4 separate regions of the Homo sapiens genome follow, and regions 2, 3 and 4 are each linked to region 1. Evidence: promoter capture Hi-C in 16 types of primary human blood cells and fetal thymus (Javierre and others, 2016). All regions are on one chromosome and are shown on one strand. The core of a region is centred on a gene start or on the middle of the fragment in contact, and the rest is flanking DNA. Distances in the headings are between cores, read along the strand shown. Region 1 holds the start of PRSS48 (serine protease 48). Region 2 overlaps FBXW7 (F-box and WD repeat domain containing 7). Region 3 overlaps FBXW7 (F-box and WD repeat domain containing 7). Region 4 overlaps FBXW7 (F-box and WD repeat domain containing 7).

Region 1 (2,558 bases), core at 37-2,536:
TGGGCCACAAACACAACAGGTGTGGTTCAACCACACCTGTAGTCCCAGCTACTAGGGAGGCTGAGTGGGAGGATTGCTTGAACCCAGGAGTCTGAGGTTGCAGTGGGCTATGATTGCACCACTGCACTCTAACCTGGGTGACAGAGTGAGACTCTGTCTCTTAAAAAAAAAATGCTCTATGAAGATTCAAATTTAGCTTTTACTTGATTCAAGGTCACCATCAGGAATATGAAGTATGTTAGTTTATAAATACAATGATGCCCTCAGATGCGGTTGAGGTTGCAAGCTGTTTACTTTTGTGCTATTTGGTTTAACTGAATTGGCATTTTGCAGTATTTGTGTATCTTTCTTCTTTGCTACCTGTTAAGTTTTTTGCTCTCTCAGCATACCCTTTCTGTTTTTTGGGGGGACGGGGTCTTACTCTGTCGCTAAGGCTGGAGTGCAGTGGCGCTATCTCGGCTTACTGCAACCTCCACTTTCCAGGCTCAAGCACTTCTCCTGCCTCAGTCTATTGAGTAGCTGGGACTACAGGTGCCCGCCACCACGCCCGGCTAATTTTTGTATTTTTTGTAGAGATGGGGTTTCACCATGTTGCCCAGGCTGGTCTTGAACTCCTGATCTCAGGTGATCTGCCCGCCTTGGCATCCCAAAGTGCTGGGATTACAGGCGTGAGCTGCTGTGCCTGGCCAGTATACCCTTCCTTTAAATCCCTGTGGACCAGAAAAATAAATGAACAAGCATATACCTGAAATCATAGAATAGTGTTTGCTCTTCCAGTTCCCTCTGCTTGAGATGCTCTTTTCCTGGATCCTCTTACTTAATTTAGTTATCCCCTTCAGTTCTGCTCAAATGACTCCTTCTTAGTGAGGCCTTCTTTAACTACCCTTCTAAAGATTGCAACACTCCTGCCCCTGTACTTCAGATGCCCCTTTCCTTTCATAGTACTTATTACCTTCTAACAAGCCTTATAATTTACACATTTAATATGTGCATTGATTATAAGTCCCACGAAGATAGGGATCTTGTGGGTGTGTGTGTGTACTGCTATTTCCAATCGGGAGCATTGGAATGGTGCTGGGTATATAGTAGCCTCTCAGGACCTTCTCAGGCTGTGCTACTCATAACTAACATCCCATGGGTGAAGTGTCACATTGTTCTATGTGATGCCCTCTTTAGTAAAAATCCTCTGCCTCTGCCTTCTCAACCCCACCCTGGCGCTCACCTGAGATCCCCAGCAGAAGGAGCAGCGTGAAGGCACAGCCAGCAGGGCCCATGTCTCTGTCCTCAGAGCCAGTGAGCGCTTCCTGCTTCCTGGACTCAGGCTCCCAGGAAGAGGCCAATGGGGAGCTGCCAGAACTAGCTTCTCCTAGATGGATTCCTCTGCTTCACCCCCTCCTCTCCTTTGGTCTTCACCCGCTGCCAGATCCTGAAGGGACCAGACTTCAGAAGTGCAGCTGCAGGACCCAGGGGAGGAACTGGGGTCTGTGGCGCCCCCTGCTGTCCTGGGAGAGCAGGGTTTCTGGGGTTTCTGCCTGTGGTGTTGAGGAGTGGCTGGTTGAGGGCACTGGAAGAAACAGGACCCTGTCTCTAGCAAGGAGATAGAAGGTGGACAGGATTCTCCAAAAGCAAGAAATGGAAAAGAGGAAATGAACCCAGTATCTGGTTAATTTTTCTGAGTTTTTTTGTTTGTTTGTTTTCATTTCTGTTACAGTGTTAGCTGCACTGCAAGTCAAGTTTCCTGGGAAACAGACTCTAAGACAGAGATTTGTGTGCAGGAAATTTATTTTAGAGTGGTCTCAGGATCAGCAGCTCTTGGGTGGGTAGTAGGATTGGTTAGAGGGAGAGTTGAACTGTGATGCGTTTGCAACAGAGGCCACAGCCTATCTCACAAGTTTCTCTGGAGCTGAGGTGGCCCTCAGAGACTTTCTGTACTGAGCTAAGAAGGATGCGTTCTTAGGGGTCTGCATCATTGGATGCAGGCCACCTCCTAGGAGGGGGCATTACCTTGGGTGAGGTGGCTCTGTTGGCAGTTCTTGGAATAAGACTTAGCTGTGAACTGTCAGCAGCCAACACTCCTAGCTGCTAAGGGAATGAATGCTTCAGTTCTAAAGGGGGGTCTGGATGGTACACCACAACATCTACCTCAGAAATCTTCACTCTGCCTTTTGTTTTCTGTGCCAATTGTTTGTAGGGTGCTAGGTCTGTGGAGGCAGAATTCAATGAACTATTAAAATGTTACTGCTCTCTTGCAACTTAAAATATTGGGATGCTTGAAAGAAACATATAAGCAGTTTAAAACTAATAGGCCAGGCACGGTGGCTCATGCCTGTAATCCCAGCACTTTGGGAGGCCGAGGCGGGTGGATCACCTGAGGTCAGGAGTTTGAGACCATCCTGGCCAACATGGTGAAATCCCGTCTCTACTAAAAATACAAAAATTAGCTGGGTGTAGTGGCGTGCACCTGTAGTCACAGCTACTCGGGAGGCTGAGGCAGGAGAATCGCTTGAACCCGGGAGGCGGAGGTTGCAGTGAGCCAAGATGGCGCCACTGCACTCCAG
Region 2 (2,558 bases), core at 39-2,538, 1.1 Mb before region 1:
CATTTCCCAAATTAACTGAACACTGAAAATTTTTTTTGATACACTTCTTAAAATTTTGTGGAAGTTTTATATAGGATATAGTCTATGAACTACTGATGTAAAATTAAAATTGTTTTATTTGCTTGAAATATTATGTTTTATTGGTCAAAGGAATTAAACTATAAATCTTCATGCTAAAAATTATTAAAAGGGATTAGTGTTGTTTACTATGGTTTTTGTGCATGTCTTTATAAAGTCTTATAACTTTTAAAATTGAAATGTTCTATATTGTTTACTAAAGAACATTTTAATGCCTTGGTGGCATCAATACTTTTTTGCAATCATTAATGATATTTAGAAAGTAGACATATAACATGAAAGTAGAACATAATATAGATTGTACAAATCTTGTTTTTTACCCTATTTTCCCCTGCAGAATGTGAAAACCTTTGCATCTTCTGATAGTCTAGCCAAGGTCCAAGAAGTAGCAAGCTGGCTTTTGGAAATGAATCAGGAACTGCTCTCTGTGGGCAGCAAAAGACGACGAACTGGAGGCTCTCTGAGAGGTAACCCTTCCTCAAGCCAGGTAGATGAAGAACAGATGAATCGTGTGGTAGAGGAGGAACAGCAACAGCAACTCAGACAACAAGAGGAGGAGCACACTGCAAGGAATGGTGAAGTTGTTGGAGTAGAACCTAGACCTGGAGGCCAAAATGATTCCCAGCAAGGACAGTTGGAAGAAAACAATAATAGATTTATTTCGGTAGATGAGGACTCCTCAGGAAACCAAGAAGAACAAGAGGAAGATGAAGAACATGCTGGTGAACAAGATGAGGAGGATGAGGAGGAGGAGGAGATGGACCAGGAGAGTGACGATTTTGATCAGTCTGATGATAGTAGCAGAGAAGATGAACATACACATACTAACAGTGTCACGAACTCCAGTAGTATTGTGGACCTGCCCGTTCACCAACTCTCCTCCCCATTCTATACAAAAACAACAAAAGTGAGTATATTCAATATATTGTTAACCTGAGAAACTTTACATATCTATTTTAATTGTAATGAAACTTTCCTCACAGTCTTTGTATTACTAAAAATTAATCTTAAGATGTGTAATAATAAAATGAACTAGTTTTTTGTCTTACAGAAGGTAATGGAAAGTATTACAAGTAGAAATACTGATAATGGGACAATCTGAGTACAAATGGAGGGAAAGTAATTGAGCCTATTACTATGAAAAATTATTAACATCAAATTTTCGTCTAAACCTTGCGTCCCGGGCAGGGATTAGTAGCTTGTGTGGGGTGTAGAGGTTTCGGGTGAAACATGATTTGTGTAAATCAAGTAATGAAGAAACTTTTTATTTACAAAATGCAGCTGCTAGAGTGGGCTATTCACAAGTGTCACTCTAAGGCATAAATTACTCAGAAGTTGCCTCAAATTAGTTCTAGTTATTTATCATTTGAGAATTAGAAATAATGAATATTCATGTAGAGTAGACTTACAAGTTAAACTATGTTTTGGAAAGGAACATTTTAACTTGAATATACTTGTTTTATAGACATTAACATAATGTCTGTGGTAGTTCATCCTCTTACTCCTACTTGCTTATTTCTTACATTTTACAGTGATTTTAGGCCATAAACAATATACAAACTGATTTAACATCGTATCGTTTAACCTAACTTGACTTGGAATGAAGTATCTTACACACTTGGATTAATAATAATTGAAATGCTAAATCATGTTTTACATCTGCTTGTAAAACCTTACTTTCTAAAATGTGTTTGGCCCTAATTTACCTAGCCTATCTGCAAGTCAGATTTTATTTAGCTGGCATGATCTAAGAAGGACGTGACATCAAGTAGTGATTTTTCATCCATTGTACCATCCCTGTCTCAAGATGTTGAAGCAGTAGCTTTGGATCTCAGCCAGATGGCTCTACCACTAACAACTATAGCACCACTTTGTTAAGGCTCAGACCTTTTATAGTGTCATTCCTCCCTTTTGCCCCCCTAGTCTTGATCATCTTCTTCAAGGTTGCTATATCAAAAGGGAGTTTTAACATCTCTTTTTTTCCTGAGGGTTCAGTTAGAGGAATAGGGGTTTAATACTTAAGGTCCAATTGCACTAACTTATTTCAGAAAGAGGTTCAATCAAAACTAAGCCTTGCGGAACAATGCAGAGTTATTGCTGATTTCTGCTACACTTTAAATTAAAAGCAAAAAAAGCTAGTTAGACAAAACATTATCTTTTTCCAAAAGGAAAAGTCATCCTTATATTCTGTAGGAAACCTTCCAGTTCACAAGTTTGACAGGTGCTTTATCTTTTCTTTACCTTCAAGATGTAAAATTTTGTGTATGATGATTACCTTTTTAAAAACGAAGTATACTGAATTTGTTAGTTTTTTTCTAGTGATTCTGAATCATGAATAACAATTATTGTCCTGTACATATAACAAGAATGGACTGGGCTCTAACCATAGAAGGAATACATGTGTGTATGCATTTATGTATATACACATGTACAGTATAGATGTGTGTATGCATTTATGTATATACACATGTACAGTATAG
Region 3 (2,558 bases), core at 25-2,524, 1.1 Mb before region 1:
CATTTTGAATCACCTGTTGTCCTTTCCATTCCTGTTACATTGTAAAATTAACACTCCACTAGGATGACTATAAACCAACTTAGAGCTCCTTGTTTTATAAGATGTCTCGGTTATCCATTGTCACCTGACCAATCACCGTCAAAGCTTTGTGGATTATAACAAACGAGAATTTTATTATTTCTCATTGTTCTTATAGGTTTGTAATTTGAGGAGGGCTGATCTGGCCATTGTTAACTCTGGGTGGCAGTCAGATCATGGCTGGAGGTGCAAAAGTGGGGGTCTAGAACAGCTGAGGGCTGACCCAGAAATTCTTTTTCCGTATCATCTCCTAACATCTCTATATAATACGGTCTTTTTACCTGGGCTAGTTTGGGCTTCTTCAGAGCATGGTGGCCTGAAGGTACTACTTAGCCAGCACATCAGGACTACCAAGTGAGTGTTCCAGCAAGCAAGGTGGAAGCTGAATCTCCTTTTTATGACTCAGCCTGTGAAGTCACATGATACCATTTTTACTATCTCTAATGGTCCAAACAGTCACAAAGGTCTGGCCTGTTATTAAGGCAAGAGGACATGGCCTCTCCCTCTTAGTGAAAGGAGTCTCAGAGTCACCTTGCAAGAAGAGCATGCAAGATGGGGGACAGCGTTGTGACTACCTTTGAGAATACAATTTGCTATAAGAGTTCATAATATCTTTGATGTTATTCCTGTTTCTTTTTTTAAATTTGGGCTTCATAAAAATCAGGCACATTAAAACATTCCATATTTAATATGTAAATGTCTTATACAATACTTTATTTCAGTTATCTAGAACTCATTTATATCTGACAAACTTACATATCTGAAACACTGACAAAGAAGTGTCTCCGAACAACTAATTTAGGAAGTAACACAACTAAGTTAGGATGTAACATTCTGTGGAATTGGATAGATGTTCTGTTACAAAGCACAGGTTTAGGAATTAGACATACCAGGGTTAAAATCTCAACTCTACTACCTGGCAGCTGTGTTACCTTGGGCAAATTTGTAAGCCTTTCTGAGCCTTAGTTTTGTCTGTAACAAGTAGACAAGGATAATGATACCTCAGGGTTTCGGCGTGGTGATTAAGTGATACAAAGCATGATCTAGTAGAAACTCTTGTCAGTGTTTAATCTCTTCCCCTTATCATTGTTCCAGTCTGAAACAATGCGTACGTATTTTCTAAGCCCTATAGCTGCAGACTTCCTTTATATCTCTTACTGATCTCTGATAGTCTCCTTAGACTTATTTATCTTTCTATCCCAAGATCTTTGTATTACAGGCATACTAAAGAATAGTAGGAATTGAATTTTATTTCTTTGTTTCTAATTTTTCTTGATAGCCAGTTAGTGTTTTACTTACTGTAAAGAATGAAAACTTAGGCTCTCAGCTTAATTTAAACCTCAGCTACAAAAAATAACATTGATATTTTTCAGAAAAATTATTTTTTTGAGTATGTAATATTGACAGCGTAAAAGGCCAGTGGTATCAACTGTCAGCCCGTCCAAGAATTAAGTTCTAAATATGTATTTTCTATTGCTTAATCTTATACTTGTTTTCTGTACTTTAATTCTATACTTAAATTCTGTGCTGAAGTACTTTCAGTTAATATTAATAAATCTCACATACTTGCATAGCACATTACTGAAAATTATATAAATGAAGTATGGTACTATGTTTATCTTTCTCAAAATATATTGATTTTTATTTATAATTGCATCAGAAACTCAACAGTATAGGAAATAATGTCCCCCTCCTATTTTACCTATTTAAAGCACCAGCACTCCTTCAGATTTTTTATGTTTCCATAAGTGTAGCTTTTTATTTTTCATAAGATAAATTTTTATAATTTGTCAAACTGTCAATTTGGTTGAGCCTTCTGCATTATAGCTTAATTTTTTAAAGCTGTGTAGCAAAAAAACACACAATTACTTACTGTATTTTAAAAGAATATTAGTATTATTTCCTTAGTCCTAATTATTAGTATAATTAGTATTATGACTCCCTGGCCTGCAATACTCTTAAGAATTTTTATAAGAGAAAGATATTATTGGTAAGTAATGTTTAATTTATTTTAACTGAAAGTTTAAACTGTTATGTTTAAACTGTTTATGGACTTAAGTACTGACATTAAAGAAGTTATTGTCTTTCTTAGACTTAAATTTTATTTTGAGAATTATGGAAAATTAGGTTACTTTAAATCACTTACTCTGTCATTACATGAGGCTTTTTGCATGACTGAAATACCTGTAATTACTGTGTCATTTTTGTCATAGTTGACTTAAAGGTGTAACTATAATAATCACGAACTAAATTCTTGGTGAGCAGCTGTGTAAGGCCATTTTAACAGCTGGGGTAACCCAGCTCAGCCTGTAAGAGTTAAGCTTAATCATGAGACAGGTTATGTTAAGTCATTGAAGACTTCATACTGGGCATTTCTGAAATACTTAGAAAATTCAGTGGGATAGTTGGATTTTTGTTTTATCTTAAGTACTTTTTAAAATGCTTAATGAAAGGATGAGGAAAAGTATTTTAACAACTAA
Region 4 (2,558 bases), core at 31-2,530, 1.1 Mb before region 1:
GCAGCTGTGATTTTGAATATTTCATTTTCTAAATTTAACGAAACTCAGATACAGTTTGACACTTAATTTTAAAAGTAATTACTATGTACTAATTTTGAAAATGAAAAAGAAACACACATGGTATAGTCATTTAGGTGGTACTTTTGGGAGTCTAGAGTAGCTCCTAAATATCAGAAAATGCTGAAATAGAGAAAAAAAATACAGTACTTTGAAGAGAAGAAAGAATAGGGTGGTGGTATGAGCAAATTTAGAGAGGGAATTTAATAGGGTACCTGTTTTGTGGTGGGGTTTTTTTGGTTTGTTTTGTTTTTGTTTGTTTGTTTTTGAGTGAGGAAACTAAAATGTGGCTTTCTAAGCTTCTCTTACTTGCATATATCTTCCATTGGTACTTGGAAAATATAAACATTTCCAGATCCTTTGGTGTTTTTTATGGTCACTACTTACTTTATCAATAAAGGCATTAATTACTGTCAGTTATCACATATCAGACCATTCTATTTTAGATCCTTTGGTCTTTTTCTCTTTAAGAATGTTTCACACATCATGCATCAACATGAGTAAGCAATGTAATTGTCGGTTTTCTTTGCATTCTCTGTGCTGTGCAAGCCACCGGCTATAAATAAGATGATGATCCCCCATGCCCATGCACAAATGAAAAGTCACAGTGATAAAACTACAAACAAACCATTATAGTACAAAATAATAACTGCTTAAATGGACCTACGTACAAAGTACTGTCAGAGTATGAGGAGGCACTCAGAGCTCAATATGAGTGGTTCAGGAAGGGCTTCACAGTAACCCTGAATTAAAACATGAAGATGTTTGCTAAGTAGGTGATCAGAGGAGTGATAGAGGGAACTTGTATCATTGCTTGGGATCGTGTCTTGTCTTATGTTTTTTCATATTAAGTATACTGCTGCAAATTACATCTTGCCGTCAATTTATTAATGTTGAAAAAATACGTATTGAGCACCTAGAGTAGAGAACTTTCCTAGAAACTGTAGATATAACAGTGAACTTGATAGACAAAGGCCATGCCCTCATGGAGCTTAGATTGTAGTTTGGGGAGACAGAAAATAAATACTACTGTTAATATTTTGATGACAGTAAAATAGGGTAATAGAATAAGGTATGATTTGGGATGTAGAAGAGGCACTACTCTAGTTACTTTCTATACATAAACTCATTTAATCCTTAAAATCACCTTGTGAAGTACGTTGTATTGTATTTTACCTGTTTTACACGTGAGGAATCTCAGGCATAGGAAGGTTCTTGCCCCTTAGCTAGTAAGTAATGTAGCTAGGACACTAACTCAAGCAGTCTTATTCCAGCATCACAGCCACTGCAGGAAACGGATCTGGAGTAGGCATTTGTTGAACAGACCCTTAGTGTCCAAATGTTTTAAGGGTTAACTTTTGCCATATAATCTTGGAATTTTAAATGTGTAATTCTCACCTTTCCCAACAATTTATGATGGTCTCAATATCTAATTACTGATAATACTGCCTTCTGTATGTTTTTGTCATCAGATGATGTTTTAGTATTGGGTTGTGCCCTAGTTGTCAGATAGGAGTACAAAGCGACTTAGCACATGATTTATAAATCTGTAACTACACTATGGAAACAACTTGTATGATTTTGTCTTTTATGTAACAAATTTTTAATTAGGTAACAATTTGTATAATTTTGACATCAAAGGGCAAGGCTATTTAAATTTGTAAATATAAACTAAGTTAGGTTTTACAGAAACTAACTTAATGTTGAGGCTTGTAATATAGAAGACAGATGAAAAATATGCTAAAAATAAACTTGGAACTAAGCTCCTGGCAAGGTAAACAAGTGTGAAATAAGTCCACAGTCCCTTGTCTGCAAAGCAGAAATCCATCATGCTCTGAAAACTGAAAATTTAAAAATAAAGGTAGCAAAACCTAACCCAAACTAACATAAAACAGTCATCTTTATTATTTATCTGAATATTCATATATTTTGCTGGAGAAACACTAATGTGTGATATACTGGAAGTGCTCTGTAATAAATAGTATATGCACTCTGTTACCTTTCTACAATTCAAAATATTCTGAATTTAGGAACACAGCTGTCTCCAAGAGCATGGAACTAAATCCAGAGACCTTAGAGTTTTACAACTGTCACCCACTCATAAAAAACTGAACACACTTTGAAATGTCAGAGTAGTCTAAGCTTTATCTTAAGTCTCTGAGTACATGCATATTAAATACTTTAAAACATACATATATAGATGAGTACCTAAAGTTTATTAACCTAATTATAGGCTATTATAACCATATAATACAATGATAGTTTGGAGCTTTTATATTACTTTTCTTCAGTGATTAAAATACAGCTCATGCTAATAGACTTATTCTTTAAATGAGTGTAGAGAACCTCAACCACATTTTTTTTAATTGTCCCAGTATTTCCATGGGAAATTAACACCACAAAATTAATTTTAATCTGCTGATATATAGTATGCATACTCTCTGTGTGTGTTGCTACTGTTACAAAGATGAATAAGACAGCACACCTTTCCCTTAAGGAAT

Evidence for each region. The method cuts DNA at HindIII sites, captures the fragments that hold promoters and counts their contacts. A CHiCAGO score of 5 or more calls a contact.
Region 2: a contact is called between a fragment that was not itself captured here and the fragment with the promoter of PRSS48 in region 1, in 1 of 17 cell types (fetal thymus). The highest score is 5.0, in fetal thymus.
Region 3: a contact is called between a fragment that was not itself captured here and the fragment with the promoter of PRSS48 in region 1, in 1 of 17 cell types (fetal thymus). The highest score is 9.3, in fetal thymus.
Region 4: a fragment that was not itself captured here is called in contact with the fragment with the promoter of PRSS48 in region 1 in 1 of 17 cell types (fetal thymus); the score reaches 7.0 in fetal thymus.

The regions. Positions count from the first base shown.
Region 1 is chr4:151,275,889-151,278,446 of GRCh38, reverse strand. PRSS48 (serine protease 48) reads right to left here and starts at 1,286. Exons shown (of 5, transcript NM_183375.5): 1 at 1,223-1,286. The coding sequence starts at 1,274. The region is part of intron 1 of SH3D19 (SH3 domain containing 19); the gene reads left to right. The HindIII fragment of the contact is 6,829 bases long and covers 1-2,558 here.
Region 2 is chr4:152,409,730-152,412,287 of GRCh38, reverse strand. It overlaps FBXW7 (F-box and WD repeat domain containing 7), which reads left to right. Exons shown (of 14, transcript NM_001349798.2): 4 at 416-985. The coding sequence starts at 485. Among named protein-coding and RNA genes, the nearest start is that of FBXW7-AS1, 73 kb to the right of the region's middle. The HindIII fragment of the contact is 8,756 bases long and covers 1-2,558 here.
Region 3 is chr4:152,390,233-152,392,790 of GRCh38, reverse strand. The region is part of intron 4 of FBXW7 (F-box and WD repeat domain containing 7); the gene reads left to right. Among named protein-coding and RNA genes, the nearest start is that of FBXW7-AS1, 54 kb to the right of the region's middle. The HindIII fragment of the contact is 2,255 bases long and covers 147-2,401 here.
Region 4 is chr4:152,371,905-152,374,462 of GRCh38, reverse strand. The region is part of intron 4 of FBXW7 (F-box and WD repeat domain containing 7); the gene reads left to right. Among named protein-coding and RNA genes, the nearest start is that of FBXW7-AS1, 36 kb to the right of the region's middle. The HindIII fragment of the contact is 1,843 bases long and covers 359-2,201 here.